Regions from separate parts of the Homo sapiens genome. Here region 2 is linked to region 1. The links are contacts of gene promoters, found by promoter capture Hi-C in human tissues and cell types (Jung and others, 2019). All regions are on one chromosome and are shown on one strand. The core of a region is centred on a gene start or on the middle of the fragment in contact, and the rest is flanking DNA. Distances in the headings are between cores, read along the strand shown. Region 1 holds the start of PXMP4 (peroxisomal membrane protein 4). Region 2 has its middle 76 kb from the start of CHMP4B.

Region 1 (4,862 bases), core at 1,695-4,194:
GGGCGCGGTGGCTCACGCCTATAATCCCAGCACTTTGGGAGGCGGAGGCGGGCGGATCACGAGGTCAGGAGATCGAGACCATCCTGGCTAACATGATGAAACCCCATCTCTACTAAAAATACAAAAAATTAGCCCAGCGTGGTGGTGGGCACCTGTAGTCCCAGCTGCTCGGGAGGCTGAGGCAGGAGAATGGCGTGAACCCGGGAGGTGGAGCTTGCAGTGAGCCAAGATCGCACCACTGCATTCCAGCTTGGGCGACAGAGCGAGACTCCGTCTCAAAAAAAAAAAAAAAAAAGATGGACTTTCGCTCTGGTTGCCCAGGCTGGAGTGCAGCGGCGCGATCTCAGCTTACTGCAACCTCTGCCTCCCGGGTTCAAGCGATTCTCCTGCTTCAGCCTCCTGAGTAGCTGGGATTACAGGCACGTGCCACCACGCCCGGCTAATTTTGTATTTTTAGTAGAGACAGGATTTCTCTGTGTTGGTCAGGCTCGTCTCGAACTCCGACCCCAGGTGACCCACCCACCTCACCCTCCCAAAGTGCTGGGATTAAAGGCGTGAGCCACCGTGCCCGGCCACATTCCTCATACTTTTAAGCACTTCAGTTTGACACAGGGTCTCAGTCACCCAGGCTGGAGTCCAGTGGCGTGATCACCGCTCACCGCAGTGTTGACCTCTCCAGGCTCAGGTGATCCTCCCGCACCTGTAGTTGGGACTACAGGTGTGTGCCACCAGGCCTGGCTAATTTTTGTATTTTTAGTAGAGATGGGTTTTCGCCATGTTGCCCAGGCTGGTCTTGAACTCCTGGGCTCAAGAGATCCACCCACCTTGGCTTCCCAAAGTGCCGGGATTACAGGCGTGAGCTACCTACCGCACCTGGCAGAGCTTCAGTGTTTTTTTGTTTTTGTTTTTGTTTTTTAATTTTTTAGAGACGGGGTTTCACCATGTTGGTCAGGGGTGGTCTCGAACTCCTGGCTTCAAGTGATCCGCCCGCCTCGGCTTCCCAAAGTGCTGGGATTACAGGCATGAGCCACTGTGCCCAGCCAAGGAACTTCAGTGTTTTTAAGAGGATATTTTAATATATTATCTAACATAGTCATTATCTTCAGAGGAAGGATGAACTGAATAAAGTAGCCTACCATCACAAAAGAAAAATCCCGGACAACCCAGTTTCAGTGACAAAATAGGCCCAGCACAACTCCCTCCTTCATTGACCTCTGAAATTGTCCCCTGACACTGAGCAAATAACATCACTGGTAAATACCATATGGCCCAAGTACCAGGGGACACCCTCACAAGTCACAGCCACCACTCAGTGTGTAGCTGTTATTCAGTGACAACTCCACATAGTGACATCATATGTTAATGTCACCCATCAATGCTCTCAGAGATGACAACCCAAAACTATGTGTTGCTTAAACAAGCAAGTGTTGAGTACCCACCATGTGCCTAGTGTTGGGGTTACAGCAGAAAACAAGACAAATAAGATTTCTTCCTTCATAGAATTTACAGTTTGATAAGGGCAATGGACAATGAACACATAGTAAACAAGTCTAAAGTGTCAAAAGTTCTATAAAAAAAAAAAACACATAAGAACCAGGGTGGCCGGGCACGATGGCTCACATTTGTAATTCCAGCACTTTGGGAGGCCGAGGCGGGCGGATCACAAGGTCGGGAGTTTGGACTAGCCTGGCCAATATGGTGAAACCCCGTCTTTACTAAAAATACAAAAATTAGCCGGGCGTGGTGGCATGCACCTGTAGTCCTAGCTCCTCAGGAGGCTGAGGCAGAAGAATCCCTTGAACCTGGGAGGCAGAAGTTGAAGTGAGCTGAGATCACACTACTGCGCTCCAGCCTGGGTGATAGATCCGAGACTCAGTCTAAAAAAAAAAAAAAAAAAAAAAGAGCCAGGGTAATGAGTCAGAGTGGACAGTGCTACTTCAAATTGGATGTCTCAGAAAGTCTCTCTGATGAAGTGGCATTTGAGCTGAAACCTGAAGGATGAGAAGAAGCCCATCATGGGAAGAGCCCAGGATGGCGAATATCAAGCAGGGAACCAGCAAGTGCAAAGGCCCTGAGGTAGAAGGGTTCTTGGCCCAAGGAACAGAAAGGAGGCTGTTTGGCTGGGAAGCAGTGAGGTGGCAAGTGCTGGAACGTGGGGTCAGAGGGAGAGGCACGGACCAGATCACAGGAGGTCTTCTCTCTTGGGCCTTGGGGAGGAGTTTGGATTCTAAGAATAAGTGGACGCCGGCTGGGTTCACGCCTGTAATCCCAGCACTTTGGAAGGCCGAGGCAGGTGGATCACCTGAGGTCAGGAGAGCAGCCTGGCCAACATGGTGAAACCCCGTCTCTACTAAAAATACAAAAAAATTTGCCAGGCATGGTGGTGGGTGCCTGTAGTCCCAGCTACTCAGGAGGCTGAGGCAGGAGAACTGCTTGAACCCTGGGGGGTGGAGGTTGCAGTGAGCCGAGATCGCGCCACTGCACTCCAGCCTGGGTGACAGAGCGAGGCTGCATCTCAAAACATACATACGTACATGGAAGCCATTGAGGGGCCATGTGACTGACACTCTGGGAAGATCGCTATGGTAAAGGATATCCCAGTCAGAACTATCTCGCATAAAGATGGGGCCCTGCTCCTCCCTGTATCATCACCTGTCGCCCATCCCATCTCTAAGCAGGGCCACTCCTCATTCAGGAGCCCTCCTTCCAAGTACACGCCTCCTTCCAAACCCACTCGTGAACCCAACATGGCCCAAGGGAAAGTGCCTTCTGATTGGACAAATCGTGTGTGACCTTGGGCGGAGCCCACTGTGATTGGCTACAAGCTTTCCTTTCTCTTCCAGTCAGACAACTATTTCGATGAGTGCTATTGTCCCATGAGACAAGTACGCTCTCTGATTGGTCTTCCATGCATGAGTGACGCAGAAACAGCCTATAGACGCCACGAGTCGGCGGCGCTACCGAGGGGCTGTGGGCGCGCAGCTGGAACCTCCGGCTGTCAGTGCGCTTACAGTTCCTAACCCCGACCCTGCGCGCAGCCCGCACTATGGCAGCCCCGCCGCAGCTAAGGGCTCTGCTCGTAGTCGTCAACGCACTGCTGCGCAAGCGCCGCTACCACGCTGCGTTGGCCGTGCTTAAGGGCTTCCGGAACGGGGCTGTGTGAGTGGGGCCGTCGGGCCGGGCTGGGGCTGAGGGATGTCCTGCCTGGGGTCAGAGGCGCGAGTTCGAAGTCCGATGCCGCGGTGCTGTTTGCCCTGGAGCAGTCCTCGTGTGTCTCTAAGTCTCGGAGGTCACCATCTGTGCAATGGGAGCTGGATTTTGGCTTGCGCGCCTTCCCAGCTCTGAACTGGGGCTCCCACTGCACATTTTCTGGGTCTTCCAACCTTTGCAGCCTGGCCCTCTTGCTTTGACTCCTCCCATGCCAGCTTCTGTATCCCCTCATTTGGGTTCAGTTCACCTCACCTCTCTGTGTGCCTTTGGGCCTCAACGGCCCCATCTGCACAATGGGGAACTGGACTCTGGCCTCTAGCTGGCAGGCGGATGCCTCCTGTCTATTCTGTCCCCATGAAGCTTGCCCATGGGCTTGCATCCTGCTTCTCACTTCTCACCTGTAGGACTCCAGCGCTAAGTCCCGTTCGGCTCAGGGGGCTCCTGGGACGTGACAATGAATGTAAAAGAAGCTGCAACTATCCTGGCATCTTACCTGCAAGAGAGGTCTTGGGGTCATTGCCCTGGCTGGTGCCTAGAGGGGAGCTCAGTCTCCTTTAAACCTAGTGCATAACAGCCACCATTTATTGAGGGCCTACAGTGCCAGAACCGGGGACAAAGCAGAGAACAAACCAGAGAAAGTGGTTTGTGTCCCCCAGAATTGGCATCCTAGTGGCAACGTGGGATGGTGGGAAGGATGTGGATGCCTTGGCTTGAACCCTGGCCCCACCTACCCGTGTGATCTGGAGGAAGTCATTTAGCCTCTCTAAGCCTCAATATCTGTAAAATGGGCATGGTACTAGTACTTATACTATCAGGATTGAGTCAATATGTGTGAAATGCTTAGCACAGGCTGGCCACGGTGGCTCACACCTGTAATCCTAGCACTTTGGGAGGCCGAGGCAGGCGGATTATCTGAGGTCAGGAGTTCGAGACTAGCCTGGCCAACATGGCAAAACCCCGTTTCTACCAAAAATACAAAAATTAGCCGGGTGTAGTGTCACATGCCTGTAGTCCCGGCTACATGGGAGGCTGAGGCAGGAGAACCGCTTGAACCCAGGAGGTGGAGGTTGCAGTGAGCTGAGATTGTGCCACTGCACTCCAGCCTGGGTGACAGAGTGAAACTCCATCTCAAAAGGAAAAAAAAGAAAGTTTCATGAGGCCATAACTTTATCTATTTTGTTCCTTGGTGTATTACTAGCACCTGGTATTTAGTAGTTTCTGAAATATTTATTGAATGAATGAATAAGTGTGCAAGATCAGAATTGCCATTGTCCCCATTTTCCAGATGAAAAGGCTGTAGCTCAGAGGTAGACCCATTGCTCGTGGCCACAGCACTTGGTCACGGTTGGAGCCGGGATTCAAACCCAAGGATGCCTGGCACCAGTGCCAGGCTCTTGGCTCCCATGGACACTCAAGAGTCAGGTAGAACTGGTTCCCACTGGGTCTGGCCAAGGGCATATCCTTGATGTGCCCTGAGATAACATCAGTAACCCTTTTGCCAAGTTTTTTTTTTTTTTTTTTTTTTTTTTTTTTGAGATGGAGTGTCGCTCTGTTGCCCAGGCTGGAGTGCAGTGGCGCAATCTCGGCTCACTGCAAGCTCCGTCTCCCAGGTTCACACCATTCTCCTGCCTCAGCCTCCTGAGTAGCTGGGA
Region 2 (5,408 bases), core at 2,061-4,560, 170 kb before region 1:
CAGATGCCAAGGGTTGTTAAGTGCAATGTGACCCAGGGCAGAGGACAAAAGGACATTGAACTCCTTTCCAAGATAACCACCAAGATGGTGGTGGGGGGCACCTCAGGACTTATTAAGGGGCAGCCAGACCAGCTCTTCTACCTCCCCTGGGCCCCCTTTAAATAAGCAGGTGGGGAGTTGGGGGAGGTCTTTGGAGTTAAGTGTCCCAGCCTGAGGAGAAGGCAGGTGGCACTAAGACTTTTCCCTCCCCTGGGAAGGGAGAATGACTCTCACTTCCTCAATTCAAGCCAAATGTAGGGGGTTCCAAGTGAAATCTCAGAAAGCAGAGCTGCATTTAGGAGGGTCCAACACCTCATTCTCCAGTGGAGGGTCTGCCTAGGCTCCCCTGCTCTCATGCCTCTCTTTTTGGGGAGAAGAACTATGAATGAACTATGAAAAAATATGGGCAGGCAGAGAGGACACGTGGAATAGCCCACACCCCAGCCCCAGCAACTGGGTAGCAAGGGAGTGGGAGGTTTCCAGGAGCCAAGAGGGCATCATGGGAGGGAGACATCTTGCTGCTCTGCCAGCAAAGAGGGCTGCTGACCAGGCAAGGGGGCCCAGAGGAAAACAGGCAGGGAAGGGGAGCTACGGGAGAAAAAGAGGGCACACAGAGTCAGCTGTGGGAATGCAAGGAAAAGAGGCCTCCAAGGATCCCCCAAGGACCTGCACCCCATGCCAGAGCCACCATCCGGCCCTAATGACACAGAAATCCCTGATGGCCAGTCAGGGATGGCCTGAGAGATGGCATTGGCCACAAGAGGTGAGGGAGTCCCCAACAGGAAGCTATTAGGGGAGAGACCTTTTCCCTGTGCCCTCCCTCCTCCATGTTAACCCAGAGGAGAGGTGGGGCTTTCAACTGGGCCAGACTGGCCGGGACTCCCTCATGCTCCAGTGTGATCGGCAGTCCGTACAACCCATGAAGGGACAGGGAAGACAGAATATGGGTGACGGCAGCGATCGGAGAATAAAACTACCCAGGGAGCTCAGTCCAGCCAGTAAACCAGAGACACGGAGAACCAGAGCATCCACTTCAAGACCATTTTTCTTGTTGGCTTTGAAATCTCTTTATTCCCCATCTAGCTCTTTTTAAAGACACAGCTTCCCCAGGGACAAGAGAGATTTGCTATTATGGGTCGAATTGTTCTCTCCAATCCCCTCAAAAAAAAAAAGATATGGACCTCAGAATGTGATCTGATTTGAGAATGGTGTCCTTGCAAGTTTAATTAGTAATTAAAGATGAGGCTATCCTTGAGTAGAATGGGCCCCTAATCTGATAGAACTGCGTTCTTCTAAGGAGACAGCTATGTGAAGTCAGGGAGAATGCCCTGTGATGAGGAAGGCAGAGACTGGAGTTACGCACCCGCACACCAAGGAACGCTGAGGATTGCTGGGAAACCACCAGGAGCTAGGCAGAGGCAAGGAAGGATCCCCCTAGGAAGAGGCAAGAAAGATTTCAGAGGGAGCAGGCCCGGCCCTCACCTTGATTTCAGACTTTTGGCCTCCAGCACTAACAGAATACACTCCTGTAGCTGTAAGCCTTCCAGTTTGTGATACCTTCTTACAGCAAAGATTGTTCAAGGTCTGGCCTGAAAGAGAGGCAGCTGGCACAGCCCTGGAGGAGGAGCAGGATTCGGTGGGAACATCCTGATACAATTAGAAATAAGGAATAAGGACTAACATTTATTGCTCAAGAAATGTGCCTACTACATGCCAGGCCCCATTCGAAGCCCTGTACATGTATTAACTCAAGCAAGTAGGTACCATTATAACTCTATTTTACAGATAAAGAAAGGAAGGCATAGACAGGCGATGTGATTTGCCCAAAATCACACAGCTAGTAATTATCAGGGCAAGAATTTGAACCCAGGCTGTCTGGCTCCCAAGCTGAGGCTCTTAATCACCATATCATCTGCTTCAACAAAATAAGTGAGCAATCAGTGTTATACCTAGGGCCTCCATAAAATACTGGGGGACACTTTGGGAGGCTAAGGCAGGCAGATCACTTGAGGTCAGGAGTTTGAGACCAGACTTGCCAACATGGTGAAACTCCGTCTCTAATGAAAATGCAAAAATTAGCCAGGCGTGGTGGCGGGGGACCTGTAATCCCAGCTGCTCAGGAGGCTGAGGCAGGAGAATCACTTGAACCTGGGAGGCAGAGGTTGTAGTGAGCCAAGATCAAGCCACTTCATTCCAGCCTGGGCAACAGAGTGAGACTCCATCTCAAAAAAAAATACTGAGGGAGTATTGAATTGGTCTCTCCAATCCCGTGTGTGTGTACATAAATATATATATATATATATATATATATATATATATATATATATATATATATATAGAGAGAGAGAGAGAGAGAGAGAGAGAGAGAGAGAGAGAGAGACAGGGACTTACTCTGTCACTCAGGCTGGAGTGCTATGGTACAATCACAGATCACTGCAAACCAGACCTCCTGGGCTCAAGAAATCATCCCACCTCGGCCTCCCAAAATGCTGGGATACACCAGCCTGTGTTCTCATCGGTAAAATGGGAGTGAATAACCCACCACTTCACAGGGCATAATGTACTTGTCATGTGGCTGGCACAGAAGGAACTCGCTGATTGTTCTGACCCCCAGTGGGGGGCTGGGAAAACTCATATTCTGCCCACTGCCTTCCCTGTTCTCTGTGCCTGGTAGAGCTTATTCTGATTTCCATTTGCAAACAGATTCTTCTTCCCCATCTTCTGACCCCTCTGGGAGGCCTAGCATCCAAGCACACTCCTGACAGGAGCGCCAGGCGTGGGTTTCTGAGGGCAGCTCAGAGGCACAGCCAGCTTGAAACAGGCACAGTCATGCCATCCGCTGAGCCTGCAGGCTGTGTACATGGCCCTTGCCATGAAGTGGACATGGTCAGAGGCAAAGATGCAGGGCAGGATGCATGTGTGTGAGCGCCCAGCTATCCACGTACATGTCTGAGCACACATGTGGGTGCATTCACACATGTGCTTGTGAGCGTTGGGGGGATCTTCATATGACACTCTCTGCTTCATGGAATTGGCATTTGCTCATTCATCCTGTGAGTATTTATTGAGTGCCTACTATGTACCAGGCTCTGTTGTAGGAGCTGGGGCTACACCATGAGCAAGACAATTAAATGACTTGCCCTTGTACGGGGAGGCAGACAGTAAACAAGTCATGTCAGACAGTGCATTGGAAGAAATGCGCTGGAAGATGTAGAGTCAGCTTAGGCTGCATAACAAAGTACCACAGACTGGGTAGCTTAAATCAGTGGTCCCAACCTTTTTGGCACCAGGGACGGGTTTCGTGGAAGACAGTTTTTCCATGGATAGTGGGGGGGATGGTTTGGGGATGATTCATATTATATTTATTGTACACTTTATTTATATTATTACCACACTGTAATATACAACGAAATAATTATATGACTCACCATAATGTAGAATCAGTGGGAGCCCTGAGCTTGTGTTCCTTTTTTTTTTTTTTTTTTGAGACGAAGTCTCTCTCTGTCGCCCAGGCTGGAGTGCAATGGCGCGATCTTGGCTCACTGCAACCTCCGCCTCCTGGGTTCAAGCAATTCTCCTGCCTCACCCTCCTGAGTAGCTGGAATTACAAGCGCTCACCACCGTGCCCTGCTAATTTTTGTATTTTTAGTAGAGACAGGGTTTCACCATGTTGGTCAGGCTGGCCTCAAACTCCTCACCTCGTGATCCACCTGCCTCGGCCTCCCAAAGTGCTGGGATTACAGGCGTGAGCCACCAGGTCCAGCCTGAGCTTGTTTTCCTGCGACTAGATGGTCCCATCTGAGAGTCACGGGAGACAGTGACAGATCATCAGGCATTAGATTCTCATAAGGAGCATGCAACCTAGATCCCCCGCATGAACAGTTCACAACAGGGTTCACACTCCTGTGAGCATCTAATGCTGCCGCTGATCTGGCAGGAGGCAGAGCTCAGGCAGCCATTCGTGTGATGGGGAGCGGCTGTATATACAGACGAAGCTTCTCTCCCTCACCAGCCACTCACCTCCTGCTGTGTGCCAGGTTCCTAATAGGCCATGGACCAGTACTGGTCCATGGCCAGGGGATTGAGGACCCCTGGCTCAAATAACAGAAATTTATTTTCCCACAGTTCCAGAGGCAGCAAGTCCAAGACCAAGGCACCCGCAGGGTTTCCTTGGAGGCCTCCCTCCTCGGCTTTCCTCCCCATGTCCTCACACGGCCTTCCCTCTGTGCACCCTCATCCCTTGTGTTGCTTCCCCCTTTTAAAAAGGATACCAGGCCGGGCACAGTGGCTCACGCCTGTTATCCCAGCACTTTGGGAGGCCGAGATGGGTGGATCACGAGCTCAGGAGTTCAAGACCAGCCTGGCCAACATGGTGAAACCCTGTCTCTACCAAAAATACAAAAAAAAAATTAGCCGGGAGTGGTGGCACGTGCCTGTTAGTCCCAGCTACTCGGGAGACTGAGGCAGGAAAATTGCTTGAACCCCAGAGGCAGAGGTTGCAGTGAACCAAGATCGCATCACTGCACTCCAGCCTGGGAGACAGAGCAAGACTCTGTCTCAAAAACAAAACAAAACAAAACAAACAAACAAACAAACAAAAAGGACACCACTCAGATTGGATTAAGACCCAGCCCTACTGGCCTCATTTTAACTTATTCACCTCTTTAAAGACCTTATCTCCAAACACAGTGACATTCTGAGGTACTCGGGGTTAGGGCTTCAACCTATAAACTTTGGGAAGGACACAATTCATCCCATAACTGCTAAGAAAGTGGGGGTGTTTTTTTTTTTTTTTCAAAGATGGGATCTCACTATGTTGCCCAGGCTGGTCTTGAACTCCTGGCCTCAACTGATCTTCCTGCCTTGGGTTCCCAAAGTTGGCAGGGGTGAGTAGGATATTTTAGTCAAGGTGGTCAGGGAAGGCCTCTTGGAGGAAGTGTCATTTGAGCTGAGGTCTAATCAGGAGATCTGGGGAAAAGAGAGTCCAAGTAGAGGAAAGTATAAGAACAAAAGCCCTGAGGCAGGATCGAGTTTGAGGTCTCTGAGGAACAAGAAGGCCACACTGGCTGGACCTGAGGTTGGGGGTGATGGCAGGCAGGGACGGGGTCAGCAGGGCTTTGTAGGCCACGGGAAGGAGTTTGGATTTTATACAATCCTTCTCCTGCTTCACTAGAGGCCATGGGATGTGGTAAGAGGTGCTGGGACATAGTGATGAATCTGACTCATCTTCCCCATTGCCCCCCCACAGCTCTGACCCCTGCCCAGGTGCTCCCAGCCAGGCAGGCAGATAAGGAGAGGATTTAATCCACTGTGATCATTCCTGAGGCAGAGGAGGTAAGGGAGACCCTGAGGCCCAAAGTGCTAGCCCT

Evidence for each region. The method cuts DNA at HindIII sites, captures the fragments that hold promoters and counts their contacts. A contact is called where the count stands out against the background at its distance.
Region 2: a fragment that was not itself captured here is called in contact with the fragment with the promoter of PXMP4 in region 1 in 1 of the 25 tissues and cell types used here (lymphoblastoid cells).

Annotation. Positions count from the first base shown.
Region 1 is chr20:33,718,392-33,723,253 of GRCh38, reverse strand. PXMP4 (peroxisomal membrane protein 4) reads left to right here and starts at 2,944. Exons shown (of 4, transcript NM_007238.5): 1 at 2,944-3,159. The coding sequence starts at 3,047. RefSeq lists an enhancer at 3,348-3,397. The HindIII fragment of the contact is 6,661 bases long and covers 1-3,198 here.
Region 2 is chr20:33,884,366-33,889,773 of GRCh38, reverse strand. No RefSeq gene overlaps it. Among named protein-coding and RNA genes, the nearest start is that of CHMP4B, 76 kb to the right of the region's middle. The HindIII fragment of the contact is 3,948 bases long and covers 1,337-5,284 here.